Regions from separate parts of the Homo sapiens genome. Here region 2 is linked to region 1. The links are contacts of gene promoters, found by promoter capture Hi-C in blood cells and fetal thymus (Javierre and others, 2016). All regions are on one chromosome and are shown on one strand. Each heading gives the region's core, a stretch centred on a gene start or on the middle of the fragment in contact. The rest is flanking DNA. Distances are from core to core; before and after follow the strand shown. Region 1 holds the start of OLFML3 (olfactomedin like 3). Region 2 overlaps TSPAN2 (tetraspanin 2).

Region 1 (7,310 bases), core at 1,930-4,429:
ACACAGGCATTCAGGGCTCTGGTTTCCACACTAGAATGCAATGCAACTAACATGCATTTTGTAGTTCAAAATCCTCTGAGAATCGGAACTGGAATCTCTGCCCTGGGCCCCAGTGTCTCACAGCCAGAGGCACGGTGCCACTGAGGTTCTAGGATGGCTGCTGTGGATTGGCTGCTGTGGATGGCGGTGGGTGTGGAAGGAGGCCTTTCGTCCAGCCTCCTAAAGTGGCGGGATTCTGCCACCTCCCCCAGGCGCCTCACAGTAAACTCTTCCTCAGCAAAGGGAGCCCCGCCCAAGTCTTTAATATGGCTCAAGGAGTGGGGATGGGTTGGGAGGGAGAAACTGGATGGTCAGGGGGAAGTTTGATCTGAGGGCTACCCCAAACAAACACAGGAGAGGAGCAGTGGATTTTCCTTTTAATGCAAAATGTTGCAATACAAAACAATGTGGAGAAAGTCCTGTTCCTCAGGACACTGAAGGGAGGAGTGAGGAAGAGAGGACAGAGCTGGACGTCTCCTCCTATTTCTCCCTCCCCAAGTCACTCTGAGGGGAAGAACACTGCTGCCTGCTCCCTGGGCCTGCCCGCATACAAGGTTAGAGCCCTGGGTCTGGGGCATCCTTAGCCTGAAATTTGTTGACATGGGGCAGGAGAGCAGGAGGGAACATTGAGGGTTTTGACTCTTCGGGCTCTAAAAGGATTACTCAGGATCTGGAGTTCCGTATGAAACAAAGGAGCTGAAAGAATTTGATTGCCATTGGCTAAAAATATAGAGGATTTGAGCCACAACTGGCCCACATTTGAAGAATGAGGAACAAGAAATTTAGTGGGGATATAATATAAATGTATGGGAGTGAGAAAGATGCAAAAAACAAGGCTAGCTCCTCAAACCTCCTCCTCTTTCTTCCTCATCTCCAGCTTATAGACAATCTGGTAGCCATCATCCCAGGCATAGAGCTGGCGTTCTCGGGGGTTATAGCGGAGGCTGGCATGGGCACCATATCTGCGGGGAAAATAAGGGAGTGCTGCCCGTTCAGGGGTCAGGGTGCCGCTGGCATCAAAGGAGCACTGGATGCGGGCCCGACTGGCAGGACGGGTGTTATAGACGACATAGAGGGTCCCACAGATGACAAAGGCAGCCTCAGCATTCTCTCTGGGACATGGTGTGTCCCACTGCTGCTCTGTGTCCAGTGTCTGTGGATCTAACTTGGCCAGACACAAGTGCCTGTCATCCTCCCGGGTGGCATAGACAGCCCAAAGACCTTCCTCATCAGCTGCCAGGTCGATGTAGGTGTCTGCTGTCAAGCCGTAGGGGGGGATCAGCCCCTCTGCTGGGAATACTGAGCTGTCCACCACTGTTCGGTTTGCCAGGTGGAATTTGATTAGCTGCAAAGTGTTCTCCATCTCACCACCTCCACCAGGTCTTCCAGGAGGCCTCCGAGCAAAATAAAGAAAGCCACCATATACCAGCTGCCCTGTGCCTACCCAGGGGAAGGGCACCCGGACTCGGGAAGCTTTCCGGGCAGCCATGGCAAGGGTGAAGTCACGCAGCCTTGGGAAGACAAAGGCTGTGTCATTCTGTGTCCCATCTAACACGTAGATCTTCTCTGTTTGCCCCAGTGGATCCTTGGTCCATAGACCAGCTGGGCCACCAAATCGCTTCAGAATCTTCATTGATCTCACTTGAGAGATTGTGTAGCCACAGTCTGATGAGAAAAGCACAGGAAAAGGAAATAGAGGCAAGAATTAGATGCCTCCAGCAGGAACTCCCCCAGGGTGGGTGATCTGGAGAATAGTGAGCATTTGCCCAGTGGTTGCCTCCAATCTTAGGGAGAATTGAGAAAGAGCGGGTACCACAGCGGCCTGGATCCCCAGAACCTCTCCTTAATAGACCTGGCATTACAGAGGTTTCCCTAAAACAGATTCCAGAAGACAGAGCCACAATGGACTGGGACAAAGCGAAAAAAAGAGTAAGAAGCAAGGAAGGAAGAATATCGGTTCTGAGAAGAGTTAGGGGCCTGCTTTCAGATTATTTACCTGTCACCATATCGTACTTCTCATTCCTTCTTCCCTTGCCTTTGGTCCCAGGGCCTCCAGTCACCTTCTCATCAAACTCTACACAGGGCAGAGCTGGGTTCTGGGTCTCCAGATAGTCTACCTCCCGCTCCAGACGATCCACTCTCCCGGAGATGGTGTCGGCCTCAGTTCTGAGTGCCTCCCGCTCCTTCTCTGCCACCTCCAGCAGTGGCAGCATCTTGTTCTTGAAGTCCCGCAGCTCAGCAGCATGCCGACTACTCTGGTCCTGGCACTGGGCCAGCCGTTCCTGAAGGGATGGGGGATCAGGAGGGAGGCTGCAGGGTTACAACTCCCAGGCAGGGAGAGGCCCAACTCGGGAGTCAGGAATGGGAAAAAAAGAGCAAACTCAGCCAGGCTTCAATATCCCCTTCCACTCCTGCAGAAAAGGAAACCAGATGTGCAGAGGTGCTAAATGTGCAAAGAGCCTAGCTGAGATTCACCTAGGCCCCTACCCCGACTCCATGTCCTCCAGCCTGTGTTCTCTGTGAGCAGTGCCACTGAGCCATCTGAGCCTCTAGGCAGGTCTAAGCGCATGAAGGTGTGAAGAGGTCTCTGCTCCCTTAGCAATTATCCTCTCGGACACTAAAATGCTACGGATCTCAACCTGTTAAAAAGACAGGAAGTTATAGATTCCCCGGGAACCTCCAACTTCAACAGAATCATCACCTTCTCTGGAGATGCAGCCCCACAATTTTGGCTCTCGTTTCCACTCTGCCCCCTTATTCTATCTAATCCCAGAGGTAAAACGCAAAAGTCGATTTGCTTTGGAATTGTTCTATGTGGGGTAAGAGGAGGGCTTGTCATTCCGAAGGTCCTCTTATTAAGAGAGAATTTTCTGTAGACTCTAACAGAGCCCTTTCTTGTTATCCCCAGATCCCTAACAAACTGGTTGAACCAATAGCCCTGGAATCCTTCTAGGCGGGGCTAGAAGAGAAAGGGGTCCCTCACCTCTAAAGCAGCTAGTCGGCGTTCCATGTACTCCACAAGGTGGTGCTGCTGTCCTTGGAGGGGTCCCGACCATGACAAAAGGAACAAGATGAGGAGAGGGGTGCTGGGCCCCATGGCAGCCTGGAGAGTGGTGCCAGAGTAGAAGGAACGTACAGTCAGCCTCTTCCCCTCAAGCCCGAGGGTTAGCTTTGGAGGCGGGGTGGGGGCGGTGCCTTCTCTCCTGATCTCTGGGTCTCTCTCACTACTCTGGAATGCTTTCAGTTCTCTTTACAACCCCCACCCCCTCCTTTCCGCCAGGATTGATCAAACACAGATGGCCCCATTGCACAGCAGCCAGAAGCCTTAACCACCTCCCGCCTAGGCTGTAGGGTCCTCTGGAGGGGAAAGAGATGGAAACCCGAAAGCAGAGGCCTTCTAGGCAGTCAAGCAGGGAAGCTAGCTGCAGAAAGCAGAGACCCCAGAGAAAACTCAGCAAACGCCATTCCTGTTTTAGGAAAGTTTCACCAGTGCTGACTTAAGAAACTGACATTTTTCATTAATCTTTCCCTTTCCCTGCAATAGAGTGGGTTTTCAGCCTTGTTCAGTAGAAGCTGGGAGCTGGGGAGGTGAGGCTTGAAGGGAGGAAGCAGGAAAACAATGGCCCAAGTGGTCAAGCCCAACTTATTCTAAAGCTCATTGGCGCCACCTTGTGCTAAGCAGCTGGTGTCATCTCTCATGATAATACAGAAACTAAGGCTTAGACTTCACCCCATGAGGAAAATTTTCCACAAAAGCCAAATATATTGAATTTACAGGGGTTTTCACCACTGAAATGCATATTTCCCCCAAGACTATCCAATTACTACTTTGGGGGCTATGCAAATATCTGATTTAGCCCAAGGAAGAAAATATAACTGAGATTAAAAAAAAAAAAAAAACAGGTCACTGAGAAGTTAGTAAATTAACTCGATCGTCTGGAAGTTAAGGCTGACAGCAGCGCTGTTTTACATGGCTTTCCTTTGCTTGAAAGAGGCCAGATATAGTCTCTCACCAAAACTGAGGAGTGTTCAGTGAGTTCACACTAATTTACTATACATTCATGTATTGCGGGGGGGCGGAATCTGATATATATATATATGTTGTTGCAGTCTAGATCAATGTATTCTGACTTCCTTACCACTGGGAGAAAAGACTATTGGTTATTTCTCTTGGTTGTGGTCCAAAAGGGTATTTCTGAGTGTTTCTCATTTCTATATCCCAACTAAGGCTGCAGGAGCCCAAAATGAATTAATGGCCACCATAAGGTAGACTTGGGCCATAAGGTAGACACACGGGCCGAAAAAAAAAATCAAATAGAGCATTTACTCAGAGACCTGCAGTCATTAATCGAAACAAACCCCTATTTCTTTATCGGGAGAAATTCTATTCACTTTAGAATCAACAGAATCTGATGAGAGGTTCCTTCTGTAAAAAGGACCATGACTCTAACAGTACAGTTTGAAAGGAGGGGAAAAATAGCAGCTTCCTGTGGTTACTCATCTTTTCATTCTGCTACTGCTATCTGGCAAAACATATGAGGAAACAAAGCTTAATTAGCCGGTCTCAGAAGTCTTCTACCTCTTTCAAAGGGTCAGATCCAGATGATGTGAAGTAAGGACCCTGGACACTGCATTCTTGGGAAGTATTCCCTGCCAAACCCTATTCATTTCCAGTATGGAGATTTGTGTGAAGAATGAAATTGTCTCTAGTACTCTACTGATGTTCAAATACAATATGCTTAGCCACTTTCAAAGATGTCATTTATTGATCCCCTTTATATCCTATAACAGAAGTCAAAAACAGCCACATAAGTCAGAAAATTTACCCATTTTATTGATGCATTGCAATTGCTCTACATTTTACCATATTATGTAGAAAATACTGAAAATACAAGCTACTTTGTAAAACCAAAGACAAACATTGAATCCAAAGATAAACTATGTTTTACACAATGGACCCTTTTCCCATAGTTAGTATTAAATTTTAAATATCTATTTCTTTTGTTAAAATGATTATTTTACATACTCCCTAAGTACATCTGCATTACAAACATAGCTCAGTAATTCTCAGAAACTATCTGTTTCTAGAGGCTTGTTGTAAAAGAAAGCGCACAACCAAAAAAAGGGAGAAAGCAAAAAAAGTTTAAATCGCACACAATAACTAGCATATCAAATACATTTAATAAAGTAGGAATTCCATTGCAATATCAAGGATTCAAAGCAGAAATACTAACATTACATATAATGTACATATAATGTACTGCTACATGTAGTGAGATTATTTTTCAAGCTGAATTGAAACCACACATTATATAAAGTTTAGCAACAAACAACCATGTAGACATGCTGCACCATCTATCAGTTAAAAAAAAAAAAAATCAAAATAGGAAGCAGGCTCGGGCCACTCCTGTCACTGAGAGGCAATTTCATTTCCTATCCTAAAACAAACCATCTCAACTAGTGAATTTTTGCATAATAATGCTGAACAAAACACACATTACTGTGCTTGCCTGGCTAAGGGCAGTCAAGCTTAGCCCCTCTAGTGGAGGACAATGGATGAGCAATCACAAAAGCAGGCTCAGAATGGCCAGAACTGTTTGAAATGGAGTTCTTATTCCTGGGGTTGGTATTTCAGCTGAGCACTGAAAATAATATCACCTCCTGGGAGCTATTAAAAACTCTGGAGTGACCAAGTGTCCCTATGAGCCCAGAGTGGCTACACTGAACCCTTCTCCGCTTCTTCTCTCACCCGGAAAGGAAGAAGTTGGAAATGCCAAGTTCTGAGAGAGGACTTAAAGCCTTAAGCTGGTTTGAGGTCAGGTCACTGTGACCCAGGCCAGCTGCTCACTAAATTCACCAGGCTTCCTCCCTTCCTGTCAGGGCCAACAGGGCTAACCCCAGGGACAGAATCTAAAGCCACAGTGAGCACATACATACACATTCAGCAGACACAGGTGGATTTTTATGCTGGAAAATCGGAAATGCCAGTTTGCAGACTAAGACTGAAAAATCTCTAGTTTTTAAAGCCACACACTGCTAGGCAAGTGACTAAGGTAACAATACAAGCTCTTGGTATTATCCTTTTCTGTGGAGTTTAGACTCCTATCTTAAGTGGTATCTGCTTATTGGACTGGGGTGCAGGAATGGGATTTGGTTTTCTTTCCTGCATCTCATTTCTTACAAAAACAACAAATCTTGTCCCTTACAGAAAAAAGACAAGGAACAAAAAATTTGTCCTTTAGAAACTAGACCTGTGTTCCAACAAGAAAATCAGAATGTGCTTGGCAAAAAGGAGACACAAAGATCACACATGTTGACCAGAAAACTGTATGACACTAGTGACAGAAATTATACAAACTGCTTGGCTATCTTGACCAATATAGTGCTGAAAACACAACTCAATATAATGATTTTAAAAAATAAAGAAAACACAACATGTTCCTGGTAGGCTGTACGGACTACCTGCCCCATCTTGGAAGCCCTTACTCCTTACAATGAAGAAACTCCAAATACTTTGACAGCTCCTCGGTGTTCAACCTGGTACAGAGCTGGCTGACCAGGCTCCATGAAATCTCCCATCTCCATCCTGCACCTCCTTGACACCATCTCTATCTACACAGAACCAGTCCTAAAATTATATCTCAAATATATCATTTTCAATTCAGATGGAACACACCTGTATTTTAGGATTAATCTTCTTTCCCCAAATCCTTTATGGGCAGGAATGTCCCCATCCCCAGTACCTTCTACTTGACCCAGATCCATGCAGGAGCTGAGAGTACAAGGACAATTTCACAGCTTGAAGGGCCCCAAGACTATACAAGCTGTTAAAAAAGAAACCTCAAAAGCCTCAATGACTCAACAGGCTTTGGTTCCTTCTCTATATTCTTCACCAGCTAAGAAACCTTTCTGTGAGTTCCTTGTCACCAGCGGCACCACAAAACTTCTCCTCATAGTATGGGGACATGGTAAGCAATACAACAGGCTCTTTGGTATAAACACATCTGTTAACATGTTTTTTTCAACAAGCAAATATTTTACTAGGAATGTCAACTATGTGCAGGAAGGACTGCCACATGGGAAAAGGAAAAAAAAATTCATTCTAAAAGTGATTGCACATACTTTAAAAGAATGCATATTTAATATTGGCTTGACTCCTCTCACCTGCTTCCTGAATTCTCACAGAAGCAAGGTAGCAACGCACAGTGAGAGAGCCACATGGGGAAAATGCTTCTGTGAGAACTCAGCCGAGAATCCAAAATGGAAAGGGG
Region 2 (7,310 bases), core at 2,649-5,148, 1.1 Mb before region 1:
ATTATTATTTATTTATTTATTTATTTTGAGACAGAGTCTCACTCTGTTGCCCAGGCTGGAGTGTAGTGGCATGATCTCGGCTCACTGCAACCTCCACCTCCCAGGTTCAAGTGATCCTCCTGCCTCAGCCCCGCTAGTAGCTGGGATTACAGGTAGGTGCCACCATGCCCGGCTAATTTTTTTATTTTCAGTAGAGACGGGGTTTCACCATGTTGGCCAGGCTGGTCTCGATCTCCTGACCTTAGGTGATCCACGCATCTCGGCCTCCCAAGTGCTGGGATTACAGGCTTGAGCCACCGCGCCCAGCCATGAGGTTAACTTTCAACAGAGAAGGGCACCTCTTTGGCTCTGATCAGAGAAAAAGGAGTCAGGAGTGTGCTTGCTACCTACAGCAATGCCTGGCACTGAAGGAAGGGAGCATCTAAGTGTATAGGAGAAGGAGAGGAAGAGTGAAAGAATTGCTATAGGTTGACTCTCATTTTTTCCACTAAGTAAGGGAGCCACTCCTTAGAAGAGTAGTTTTCAAACTTTTGTCAGAATGCATTATAGGTATCTCTTGTGGATCTGTGTCCTCTAAACTGTGAATTCCCAGAAAGCAGGAGAAACCATATCCTATTGTCTCTGCATCTACCACCCCTCTTCCAGTGACTAATGCAAGGTAGATGCTCAAGAAATGTTTGTTGAATGAATGAAGTGTGATAGGAAATACGAAGAGAGAAGTAAGGGTTTTATATAGCTCAGATGGTATCAAAGGAACCAACCAGTGACAAGTGAACAGATCTGAACAACCTGAGGGTACAGTTGGATTGAGAGCATCCCTCTACTTAAGAGCACTCCAAATAGGAGTGTTTGAAGTTGGAGAAACTAATAATAGTTACAGGTGATCTATTTGGCTTTCTGTCTAAGTTTCCCCACATCCATGAAGGCCCTTTGAATCTATGCTGCACAGGTGTCTTATGGGCACAGATGAAAGGATAGGAACTCACCCAGCACAGCCCAGCCCAGCCACCACAGGAGAGAATGGTCCTCTAGCTCCAAGACTTGGCTTTTCTAATTCTTGGCTTTCCTTTGTTTAACTTGAACCTGTTAAGACTTTTTAGTTTCTTAATAGGTCATGCCTACTTTGCATAGTAAATTGGGTCAAAGACATAGAAAGTATTTTAAACTGTAAATGACAATATGAAAACAAAGAGTTATTGTTTTAAGGGTATTTTACTTATTTGCTACAAGTAAGAAGTGGCTCCAAATTTTTAGATTCCTTGGAACCAGACAAATAGCTTCCTCCAGTTATATTTCAGGGCTCCGAAGAAGCCACTGGCCTAAACATGAAAATCTCACCCAAAGGAGAGGCTTCTATTTTTTTCCCCAAACTGCATTTTTGCATTAAGCTTATTAGGATGATGTTATCAAAGATGAATTGTTGAAACATGAGTAGAAGCTGGCATGGATTAACTCTCACAGAATGAACTGTAGAGATGGAAAGGATAGGATCAGGATAATGACTGACACATACAATCAGTTTTTATTCCCGACTTTTTTTCCTCAAAACAGAATTGCATCGATGAAATTGAGACCATAATCAGTGTTAAGCTCCAGCTCATTGGAATTGTCGGTATTGGAATTGCAGGTCTGACGGTGAGAAAGTTCTAGAACTTACCCTTTTTGCCCTCTAAAAAGCCTTGAAACTTTGCATCTTATTTCTTTTCAAGTGTGATAGTATCTTAAGAGAGAATTCTCATAAAGAAAAAAGACCTTTGTTCACAATGTATTACATCTTCTAAGAACAAAGCTCATAAATATATTAATAGTTTGTCCTCTAAAATATAATAGAAATTTCAACTTTAACTCATTATGACCTTGAGTGTGTCATTGTTATTAACTTCCCGTTTTAAGGCTACTATCCATAACCTAGATAAATGATTTTCAGTTCTGGGTCTCTTTCTACTGTTACAAATTCAATGCAACATATCAGGTTAATCTCTCTCACCTACGATTTGAAGAGGCAGCAGAGCATAGAGATTAATAGGGCGAGCTCTGGCATCACATGGTTTGGATTTAACTCTAGGCTCCACCATTTGCAAGCTCTGAGATCGCAGGAAAATTTCTTAATTTTTCTATACCTCAATTTCCTCGTCTGTTAATATATAAACCTTATAGGATTGCCGTGAAAATTAAATGGGATACTACATATACAGTAGTATTACAAATTAATATAAATAAAGTGTCTGGGACATATAACACTCAACAAATGCCAGCTCTCTGCATAATCTACCAGGCAAAGGCAATGGCATAGATGGTATTAAGCGTAGTGCATCCAGACCACCACCAGGTGGCTCTGTACTTCTAAAGTACAAAAGAAGAGTGTGTGGGAAGAATGGATAGCAGCGGACAGGTATGGCAGGAGTTGCGAGAGGTGGTAATGGAGAGAGTATTCGATCTACATCATTGAGATCTTTGTATGCCCCTTTGAAAGGGTGGGCTTCACCCTTAAGGAAAGGGGAGTCACCAAGAGTTGGAAGAACCTGTGGTAGAGGATAGAGGAAAGGTTGGAGGGAGGCAAGATTGGATTTGGAAGGCGGGTTAAAGGATGATTTCCATTGTCCAGGGGTTGGATGATAATAGCTAATGCTAAGATGGCACTTAGTCTCTAGCCCTCTATGTAGATTAATTCATGGCCTAAACTAAGGCAAGGGCTGTGGGAATTGTGAGGAAATCAGTGAATTTGCAGTTATCAGGGGACACACAAGCGCCTTCCCCTTTTCTGTATTTAGAGCACAGAGGGGTGGAGAAGTGGCTGGAAATACTCTGCTGAGGCCCTCCAAATCAAGGGACATTTCTCAGGTCCTCCCCACCTGCTCTGGGGATAGCCTGGCTGCAGTTCTGCAGCTCCCCAAAGGACAGTCCTGAGGCAGGTCTGAGCGTGTGCTGCATAATGGAGAGTTTCACAATCTCAGCAAATGAGCAGCCTAGAAGCATTCACCCCTGACTCGTGTCGGCAGTAGGCTGAGACTGAAGGAGTCTCACTGAAACCAGGATGGGTAGGGATTACATCCAACCTTATGGCAATGATAAAGGGGAAATGCCCATAGTGAGCCTATCTTGAGTCGGCACCCCCAGGTTTCTTCGTTAGTTCTTTTCTCTGTAAAGTGAGAGTTGCACAATGTAATCAGCTAACTAAAAGTGCATTGGGTGTCGCCCGTGCTACACACTGGTACTGAGTCCTGTCATCCAGAAGCTTGAAATCCTGTTCCTGGCCATGCCCTTACCTGCTTCTGCCCCTCCCTTTTCAAAACAACTGATCATTCATATCTTATTGAATTTAGCACTTACAGATCCTAGTCTGACTTAGGATGGAATTGAGGAGAGAACCAGAAAGTTATAGTACCCATTTTTTAAAATAAGCATTGACAGTAGTTTATGGAATGGTGCCCACAGATAGGGTTCCATGGGCTCTACAAAATTGTAGGGGAAATAATAGCGGACAAGAAGACTCTTTGGCATTCTTCTATTCAAACCATGGAAGTGGATATTGATTTCACTCAAGTATTTAACTTCTCAGAGAACTATCCAAAAGGTAAAAGTCAATAATACCATAGTATAAACCCTTTAGTTTATGTTTTGCTAAAACTATTGAATTAAACAGTGAAGCATCGTTTGCCCTTAAAAATGGACTGAGAATGAAGTGATGCTCCACTTTTTTTTTCTTTTTTTGTGAGACAGGGTCTCTGTCACCAGGGAGTGAAGTGGTGCAATCACAGCTCACTGCAGCCTCGACCTCCTGGGCTCAATAATCCTCCCGCCTCAGCTTGCCAAGCACCTGGGACTGCAGGGACACACCACCATGCTCAGCTAATTTTTGTATTTTTTGTAGTGACAGGGTTTCACCATGTTTCCCAGGCTGGTCTAGAACTCCTGAGCTCAAGCGATCCTCCCACCACAGCCTCCCAAAGTGCTGGGATTGCAGGCATGAGCCACTGCACCCAGCTGATACTCCATTTTTGGATGTATGGACACTGTTGTAAAAAATCAGAGCTTTTCCAGCAATAGAAAATTATTTAGACCACAAGCATATCTAAACAACAAGTGGTTATGGACACAGTTTTCAAAATAAACATATAAAAGAGATCTAGGATTAACCTGAAATATAAAATTCCAAAGCCAGTATTGTGTCTGTCTTTCACAGGTATTCAGAACGGTTCTATAATTCTGAAGCAGGGTAGGTTCTTTTAAAGCAGAGCCTTGTTACTTGTTAACAATAATAATACACATTTAAACAGTTAATCTAGAATTATTTACCCCATAGCCAACCTTAAGTAACATACTAAAATGTCATTTGTGACTGGTAATTATTGGTTATAATTATTTGTTAACTTGAGTTAGACACCCAGGAAGTCTGCTGAACTTTTTACCTATCAGTACCCGTTTCAAAGTCACTGATGAGTGTTTCTTCTGTTTCAGATCTTTGGCATGATATTCAGCATGGTCCTCTGCTGTGCGATACGAAACTCACGAGATGTGATATGAAGCTACTTCTACATGAAAATTGCAATCTAAAGCTTTCATACCAAATGTCACAGGAGCTGTCTCCCAGCTCATTTTTAACACTGAAATGACATTAGGATCTAAAATAATTTGCTGTCAATTGTACATTTGCATGAGTACGTATGTTTGGCTCATTACTGGTTTACCCCTTGAGTGAATGCCTGTTTATGATGACTGAGAGCATATTCATGTGTGATCTGCGTGTTTCTGGAATATGCTTTATACGTAATGAAATCTGTTTGCTGGGAATTCCTGATTCTTGTTATATAAGAAGAACAACCTATTTCGCTCCCAGAAAAAAAAGATCAAAGAGCTTTCAGAAACTTTGAGAACTTGGCTATTTAGAAAAAGTGATAATGGGTCAGTTTCTCAGACTGTAGCCATTGAAAATTAGATGCAGAGAATTCAGAGATTTCTTCTTAATGGAAGTAATAAGCTGTAAGAATTGAGAGATCACAATGGAGTGTTAAAACTGACTGTGTCTAAGTTGGGTGTAAGGGTTTCCTGGGTTTTTTTATATACATGCTCTCCCCAGAATACAGTAAACCACAGTTTTAGAACTAAACACATCTGTAAAACTAAATATAGCATGGAAAATCCAATTTGAATAAGTCATGCTTTCCTAGAATTTAAAAATAAAAAAGTCTTCCTCTGGAAAGAGAAGTCACACAGACAATCATGTGCCCTATAAAAGTGAGTGTTTATAGGACTAAAAAACTTTTAACAACTTTTTAAGGAAATATTTTTGTTCTTATACAAAAACATGTAAATATTGCTTTATTACTTTCATTTTCTGACCCTGCTGTAAACTACTGCAACCCTCACATCCTCAAAGGGACTTTTATGTCAAACTCTTCTGTTTCTCCAAATATAAGGAAAAAAGACTAAAGCAAGAGATCTGGCAGTTGAAAATTGTGGGAAAGAGAATTTGTATGGGCACTGTATCTATGAAATACCTCATAACTTACGTTTACATGTTTTCCTAACTTTTTGTATTTTTCTTGTATAGCCACCTAGAGAATTCTTCATAGATTAAGAACTACAGTTTTCACCACTTAACATAAGTAAAACAAAGTCCTTCATAATTTAACCATTAGCATCTTTGGCCAAACCAAAATAAAGAAAAGCATCTTCTCCTAGTTGTGTGTGGGCAACAGAAACAAGTTAAGGAAACAAAAATACTTATATATACACAGAACAAAAATAATGTTCTTTTTATGCAAATCCCCTGTGAAAATAAAATTTTCAATGTTTTTTTGGTCTTAACGCTTCATTTTAACTTAGTAAACCCAAATTTAGGATTTACATTGGCAAATTTTTCAGTGATTTTTAACGTGTTACATTTAGTAAACCATAGATTTTTTAAAAACTACATTTTGTAAGGCCACACATAAGTGAAAATACGGAAGGCTTTGGAAACCCCCAGATGAACTTCTATACATGTGAAAACACAAGTCTTTGAGTGTGCACTAAAAGTGTCACACTCCCAAAAAACTCACAAAACATTTTGCTAAAAAGATATGACTGCTTGAAATAGTCTCTCTCCCATGGAGAACCACATTTCTCTTTCTGCCATACTTGCTACTGCTACTGATTTTGGAGGAAATTTTTCTAGAAGAACAAAGGTCATATTTGAGGCAAGCTAAAAACTTAATTATACATGGCTACTTTACTGTGTCTGTAGCTAAAGAAAAATTATTTTACAAAAATTACTTCATGAAATATAGTTTGTACCCCAGTAGTTGAGAAATGTGACCTTTTAGGCAAAGAACAGGCAGTCCATCTCTCTTAGCTTTAGTTTATCTCTCTGCCTGAAGACAGGAAACAGGCCCAAGTGCATACTCGGGTTCTTTCCAACTCAGAATCATCTCTGATTCCACAAAAGTGAGTTTAGTTTCCTATCTGAATTAACAACTTTAAAGGAGACTATAATAGTTAAAAGTGGAAGAATAGAAATAAATAAATTTAAAATGAAATTAATTAAAGTAGAAGAGAAGGGTTCTGTTCCATGTACGATTAATGTGCCCCTTTTGGAGATAAGCTTTCCAAAATATGCGTATGAGTAAAATTAGAGAATTCCACCACTAAGCAACAATAGATTTTATATGTGTGTGTGGATATATATACACACACACACAGAAAGATGAATATATATATATATATATCTGTATAGACACACATATAATATATATAGATATATAATCCCTATATATCTTGAATCTACAAATATCTTTATATGTATATAATTTGAATATATACATGTATGTATATACAGATGTGTGTGTATATATATATATACATACACATATACATAAATTTTCAGCTATTTCTGTTCCCCTGAACTAATTTGAGATTAGACCCAAACATGCTTTTAAATGTCTCATGCCAAGGCACTGAATTAAGACTTCTTAATGTTGAAATATTTTAAGTGATTTCATATTAAATTTTCTATATACTGAAATTGCTTGTTTGATTTATCTTAAAGTCCTATTATATCTTTCTACAAACCTTCACGCAACTTATCTAAATGTCAAACTACCAATCAAATAATGTGATTAAAAAAAAACAGAGTGGTAACCCTTCTATAATTTGCTATTGGTAGTTGACTTAAAAGCAACACCCTAAGGACTCTTACTGCATATACAGTCATCTGTCAGTATTCATAGAAGAATGGTTCCAGGACCCCCTGTGGATACCAAAATCCACAGATGTCCAAGTCCCTTGTATAAAATTGTGTAGTATTTGCATGTAGCCTATGCATATCCTCT

What was found. Contacts are between HindIII fragments. The CHiCAGO score rates a contact against its expected background, and 5 or more counts as called.
Region 2: a contact is called between a fragment that was not itself captured here and the fragment with the promoter of OLFML3 in region 1, in 2 of 17 cell types (total B cells and naive B cells). The highest score is 10.6, in total B cells.

What each region holds. Positions count from the first base shown.
Region 1 is chr1:113,975,343-113,982,652 of GRCh38, reverse strand. It overlaps OLFML3 (olfactomedin like 3), which reads right to left and starts at 3,179. Exons shown (of 3, transcript NM_020190.5): 1 at 3,023-3,179; 2 at 2,036-2,321; 3 at 400-1,704. The coding sequence starts at 3,136. The coding sequence ends at 884. It overlaps HIPK1 (homeodomain interacting protein kinase 1), which reads right to left. Exons shown (of 16, transcript NM_198268.3): 16 at 4,784-7,310. RefSeq lists enhancers at 602-1,434, 3,102-3,935, 5,241-5,818. The HindIII fragment of the contact is 3,076 bases long and covers 1,515-4,590 here.
Region 2 is chr1:115,047,704-115,055,013 of GRCh38, reverse strand. It overlaps TSPAN2 (tetraspanin 2), which reads left to right. Exons shown (of 8, transcript NM_005725.6): 7 at 1,552-1,635; 8 at 4,459-7,003. The coding sequence ends at 4,524. Among named protein-coding and RNA genes, the nearest start is that of TSHB, 22 kb to the right of the region's middle. The HindIII fragment of the contact is 1,321 bases long and covers 3,238-4,558 here.